Linked DNA regions of Homo sapiens: region 1 is linked to region 2. Evidence: promoter capture Hi-C in human tissues and cell types (Jung and others, 2019). All regions are on one chromosome and are shown on one strand. Each heading gives the region's core, a stretch centred on a gene start or on the middle of the fragment in contact. The rest is flanking DNA. Distances are from core to core; before and after follow the strand shown.

What was found. The method cuts DNA at HindIII sites, captures the fragments that hold promoters and counts their contacts. A contact is called where the count stands out against the background at its distance.
Region 1: a contact is called between a fragment that was not itself captured here and the fragment with the promoter of KCNE1 in region 2, in 3 of the 25 tissues and cell types used here (IMR-90 fibroblasts, lymphoblastoid cells and spleen).

The regions. Positions count from the first base shown.
Region 1 is chr21:34,646,908-34,650,006 of GRCh38, reverse strand. No RefSeq gene overlaps it. Among named protein-coding and RNA genes, the nearest start is that of CLIC6, 21 kb to the left of the region's middle. The HindIII fragment of the contact is 3,209 bases long and covers 1-3,099 here.
Region 2 is chr21:34,510,958-34,514,246 of GRCh38, reverse strand. It overlaps KCNE1 (potassium voltage-gated channel subfamily E regulatory subunit 1), which reads left to right and starts at 2,037. Exons shown (of 4, transcript NM_000219.6): 1 at 2,037-2,220; 2 at 2,932-3,146. The HindIII fragment of the contact is 8,709 bases long and covers 1-3,289 here.

The DNA of each region.
Region 1 (3,099 bases), core at 284-2,783, 140 kb before region 2:
CAAAAGGCTGCATACCATGTGATTCCACTTATAAGACACTATTTCCAAGTCTAAACCATCATTGGTTGGCCAAGGGTAGAAAGCGGGGAACAAGGATTGCCAACAAAGAGGGACAGGGGACTTTGGGGGCTTATAAAATTTTTGTGTTTCAATATATGTGAATTGTATCTTAAAATACTCTAAATGTAATCCATATGCTAGTTACCTGAGTATTCCTCATCTTCTAGCTCTCTCTCAGTCTCACCTGGCTCCCTCTGCTCTAACCACCTGCATCTGCCCCATCTCAACCCTACCTCCACCTGCTACTCTCTTCGCTCCTCCTTGTCTTAGCCCAGGTGAATGCAGCCTCTTTTCTGTGGTTTTTCTAACATACCACCTCCCAGAAGGCAGTTGGACATAGTTAGGACATAATTTATAGCCAAACCCAAACACTTCTGAAAGTGAAAGTGATTACTCTGGGGCCACAGGTGCAAACCATGAGGCTATCCTGGAAAACTAGGATCCACAGCTCCTTGCTATGGGAGATGCTCACTCAAGGTTTGGGGCCAGTGATGGGCAGCGGGTTGGGGGCTGGTCCCTGCCCATGTCATCCCGAATCCTCTCTCAGCTTGCCCGCTTGCAACCCCCAAATCCCTCTTCATTTATTGTGCAAAGCAATTTATCATCCCTCTCTCTGCTTCATTCCTCACCCTGTTTCAAAGTCCAAAAGCCCAACAAGGGGCTCATACTAGTCAGGTCTCTCCCCTGGTATGATTCTACTGTCTGCTCTTGAACCCCCAGAGACAGTAGCAGTCATAGCTAGTGGGTCATGATTATTTAATATGCTGAGCTCTTCCTGTGGATTATATCACTCCTCCCTTTTAGGCCTCTGTGAGGTAATTAAAATCACTATGCCCATTTTACAGATAAGCAGACTGACGTTCTGCAGCATCAAATAACTCTGGAAAGCAGCAGAGCTAGGAGTTCAACCGAGGTGTCTGAGACAGCAGGTGCCCAGCAGAACCCTTACATCAGGCCAACATTGCCCTTGCCTTGTTCGGGGCACGGAGCACAGGTTTGCACGGAGCCAGTGTTTGCTGTCTGCCTGCCCCCACTCCACTGGCATGATTGCATTGTTTAAACAACCAAATGAACTCAACAGCTGACAAATAACCCAGTGGTTTCCATTGTATTTGGAGCTGTGTGAGCTCAAATGATCAGTGATGAGATCTGCCAAAGTGTGAGCTCATGAACTCCGGCTCAAGAACCAGGAGAATGTTTCTCCTCCACTCATGATAACCTTGTTCAGAATTGTGAAGTTGCTTCCCCTCAAGGCATTAAAACTTAGACTTGACACCACACCAGTAATTTCTCTATGACTCCAGATCTGTGAATGCAAGCTGAAAATGTAAATGGAGAATTCAGGTATTAGTCTAACTATTCCGTGGCTAAATGTGGAGAGTTAGAAATGCCTCCCGGGCGGATTTAACTTTTCCATTTCATCCAAAAGCTTGATAGTAAGGCAAAAACACCATGGCTTTATATAACTGATGTTCCCTTCTTTTTTAATGAATTTGTTGACAAGCTGGAGGGTAGGTACTTGAAATGTGTTTTTCTCATAGAAGTGAGATTGATAAATGGTGATTAGGTGTCCAGAGACGTTCATTCATGTGAGTCCTGGGAAGAGAGGGCCGAAAGGAGAGGATGGAAAAAAGAGAGTTTCATTCTCCTTTCTTGGACCCCAAATCAATCTACCATAAATGTTTGTAAAATGAGCAAGTCTCTGGAATCTTCCCACCCACTTCTCTGAGGGCGTAATGTTATACTTGAGAATTGCAGGCTCTTGGTTTCCTCTTACACATGAGGAACTCCCAATCTGCCCAGTCTCCCTCCAATCTGCCCAGTCTCCCTCCCTTCATCATCCCATCACCTGCCATCCCTCCTGAAATCAAAATTCTTATCCTGTTACCGAGTGTAAGTTCTATGAAGAGTTTTGAAGCTAGAACAGCAAACTCTTTTATGGTGCTGACGATATGCCAGGCACTACTATAAACACATAACATACATTAGCTCATATGATTAATATAATCCTTGACGTAAATGCTAACGATGTAAAGATGTGGGATAGAGAAGGTAAGCAATTTGCCCAAGGGCACACCGTCGGGAAGTGGTAGAGCCCCACAGTGCAGAGTGTACCCAGACAGCCTGGCTCCAGCGTCTGTGAACCTAACCCCATGAACGTAACCCTTCCTAAGGCTGGGGAAGCATGTGCCTGGTTGCAAGCATTGTGCCATGTGTGCATGCATTTAGCAGTCATGCACTGGGACCTGCTGGTTGCCAGCCACTGTGCTGGGGCCAGGGACACAGGGGTCACAAGGCCATCTAGTCTATGTCCTTGTGCAGCCACATTCCTGGGGGGCTTCAGACAATTAGACAAACAATGACAACATGAGGAAGTAAATGTTCTGCATATCTAGGAGTATTTAGGAGGAGTGCCCAACTGGGACCCAGGGCCAGGCCAGGTAGATGTGGGGAGGGTTGGTCAGCTCTGAGGTACACCTGAAGGATGAATAGAGGTTTTGCTGGCCAGGAAAAAGGTGGGAGATGGCATTCCAGGCAAGGAAAGGGCATGGGAAAAACCCAGAGCAAGGAGTATGCCAGGGAAAAAAGTTGTCTCAGTGAGGATGGAGCCAAGTGTGAACAGGGACAGCAGGCAACTGAGAGGCCTGGAGAGGCAGGCAAGGACTTCCCTTGGTTCTTACCTTTTAAATTTCTTTCATTTTTAGAGACAGGGTCTCACTCTCTTGACCAGGTTGGAGGTACAGTGGTGCAATCATGGCTCACTAAAGTCTTGCACTCCTGGGTTCAAGCAATCTTCCTGCCTTAGCCTCCCGAGTAGCTGGGACTAGAGGCACAAGCCACCACTCTTGGCTAATTTTTTATTTTCTATTATTTGTAGAAATGGGGTCTCACTGTGTTGCCCACGCTGGTCTCGAACTCCTGGCCTCAAATGATCCTCCCACCTCAGCCTCCCAAGGTATTGGGATTATAGGCATGAGCTACACACCCAGCCAAGGACTGCACTTTGAAGGGCCCCACAAGCCCCATCAGAAAGTCTGG
Region 2 (3,289 bases), core at 788-3,287:
TACCTCTGTGCCCAGCCACAGAACATGTTTCTAGGGGCTGCTTTTCTTTTCTTGAGTGGCCCTAAGCTGTTTCTTACCAGATTAGTAATATATTCTATCAAAACCTACTGAAGAAACACTTTCAATCAGTGGCAAAGCGTGCATTCTGCACAGTTCTGCCTGTTGAATGTCGGTCATTTCACATTTTACTGAACCCCTCTCTTACAAAACAACGTGTGGGTCCTGGGCACATTCATGATGCAGTGACTTTCAAACCCATCAGCCTGGGAACCCAGAAACTTCTTGCATTATTGGTCACAATAAGCGCTACTGAAATGATTGACTCTTTAATATTTCTCCTGCAGGTGTCTATTAGGAATGTCTCTTCCCCCTAAGAATCGTTGCCAGCTACTCCCGCTGGGTCTCCCATCATGCCCCCTTCTTTTCCATTGTATGGCATATTTTCTTTTTTATCGTAATTGTTAAATTGTTTGTCTTCCCTGTTGAAACATAATTTGGGTGGAAGTGGGATTCCTGGTAGCCAATGGCTCATAGTAGACGTTCAACACGCAAGTGGATTGGATAGATGGAAGGATAGATGGGTAGATGGAAAGTTGGATGGATGGATGGATGGATGGATGGATGGATGGATGGATGGATGGATAGGGATTTTGGAGGAAGAGGAGTGAGCAGTCACTGAAAAGAATAGAAAAATAATGAGGCTTGCTCCCTCTCCCTAGTCAGAAGAGCCAGTAAGCAGCTTAGAGCTTTAATCCCACAAATTGTCAGGCAGCTGGCGCAAGAACAGGGAAAAAGAGAGAGAGAGAGAGAGAGAGACCCTGTCTGTGGTAGGTTATGGTCATCAGTGAAAAAGAACAAAAACCTTTGTTTTAAAACTCTCCTCAAAACAGATGATTGGCTAGAGGGTGCGGCACAAAGGAACTTGTCAGGGTGATGGAGACATTCTGTATCTGGATTGAGCAATGCAAGAACCTGGGTAAAGACACAGTCATGGTAACAGCTGTATACATCTGTTGAAAACTCATCAAACTTATCATATTTAGAAAGGGTACATTTTGCTTCATGTAAAGTATGCCTCAATAAAGTGTACTTGATTTTAAAATCAGGATAAAGGAAAAAAACATTGATCTTGGATAATGGGCAGGGGTTGGGGAGAAGGTCTTAATTATCATCATATCCTTTTAAAAACGTTTTTCAAGTGTGTGATGCTCTGATGACATTCTTAAGACACAGCAAGGCAAAGCAGTATCCCAAATGAGAGAGTGAGCATTCCAATAAATATTTTCTGTAAGACACTGATATGTCTATGACTATTTGCTAAATTTAAAAATCAACTTGGACCATATTTACTCCCTTAAAGTCTAATAGACGACTAATTTCTTCTATGTTCAGAACAAATATGTTGCTACTTTAAGAACAGCATACATAGGTGTGGTCGGCCCTCTGTGTCTAAGGCTTCTGCATCTGTGGATTCAACCAACAATGGACTGAAAATATTCCAAAAATAAAATAAAATTAATGAAACAACAACAAAAATAAAACAAATAAAAAAATGCCAGGTAACAACTACTTACAAAGCATTTACATAGTATTAGGTGTTAGAAGTAATCAAGAGATGATTTAAATCACCATCTATGATTGGCTGATATGCATAGGTTATATGCAAATACTATGCCACTATATATAAAGGACTTGAACATTCGCAAATTTTGGTATCTGCAGGGGATTCTGGAACCAAACCCCATGGATACCAAGAGACAACTATATATAAAATACTGAAAGAGGCATGGAGAGTGATTTTCAGGCCTCTACCTAAAGCCCTGAATATTAGAAATTACTGAATTTCTTCTCAGGAAGGAAATTACGCCATAAACCAGTGTTGCCACACACCCAGAGAACAAGATGACCCGACGCCCCAGCCTGGTCATGCCACATGAGCTGAGCAGTGGGTAGGCCACTGAGCCAGTGATAGAAATCACAAATTACAAAACGTCAGAGTACTTTCTGGAAATAAGCCTTCCTCTCCAGGGAACAACGCATTTGACACTTGACTGGGATACACTACCGGATCCTCCGAGGGTGATGGTTCTCAAGAAGGCAGAAGCAATGGTGACCAATAGACCTCCTTAAAGGCTGAGCCGCTGGGCACCTTCCTACTCCTCTCGACCGTGCTAGGATGACTGCAGCAGAGTCCCCGAGTCCTTTGATGCAAGGGTCTAGGTGAGTTCGAAGGAGAGCCATACTAGGCCAGGCAGAAAGGCCCATGGTGATGGCTGTCCACCCTGGTCAGGGGAATTCTAGGTTCAGGCCATGCGGCAAGGTCACCTTGAGGGACATGCTTTGCTCTAAGCTCAGCTTAAGTGTGTCTGAACCCCCCTCACTTCTTCCAACTGCAGAAGCACATGGAGAAGGGGGAGAAAGGGTTGCCCACCTCCTAAAATGAGGGCAGCGTGGTGAAGAGCCCCATCATGCCCCACCAAGGTCCTGTGTGCAGGGCAGGGCAGTGCCTATCCAGAAGGCCAGACCTCTAACTGCTGCTCTGTAGGACGTCCGGGCCTCACATGCAGGCTCCTATAAGCTGGCTGTCTTGGCAAGAGGGCCCTGGTACAGCACTGTGTTCATCACAGAAAACCACACCGTACATAATTTGTAACAGACAGAAATGCATTTGGCTCATGGTTCTGGAGACTGGGAACCCAGGATGGAGGGGCCACATCTGGCAAGGGCCTTCTTGCCATGACATGGTGGAAGGTATCACAAGGTTGGGGAAGGAGGGGTGGGCGGGGCGGGAAGAGAGAGAGAGAGAACAAGAGAGAGAGAATCCATTCATAAGGGTGGAGCCCTCATGACTAAACACCTCCCATTAGGTCCCACCTCCCAACACTGTTGCTTTGGGGATTAAGTTTCCAGCTGGCTTTTTTCAAACCTTAGCAACCACCAAACAGACAAGCCCTTCGGCCTGTCCTGGAGGGCGTTGAATGGCATGGCCTGGAGCTCAACCAGGAGAACCGTGCTCAGGAGGAAGAGACCAGAAGGATAACTCAAAAAGTTCTGAGAAGTTCCTAAGACCACCTGAAGAGAAGGAGCCTGCTGCCAATGGTGTGGACACCGCAGTGTGCTTGAGGAGACTTCAGAAACGAGAACTGGTAGGAGAAGGGGGTTGCACAGACCCTTTCCTCAGTTAGGCACCCTCTGCTCCCACCCTCATGCCCACCCTGACATCAGGCTAAGGGAGAGGCGCTCATCCATTGACAGGTGCCAGGCTGTCCTGGGCCTGGCAAACCCTGGC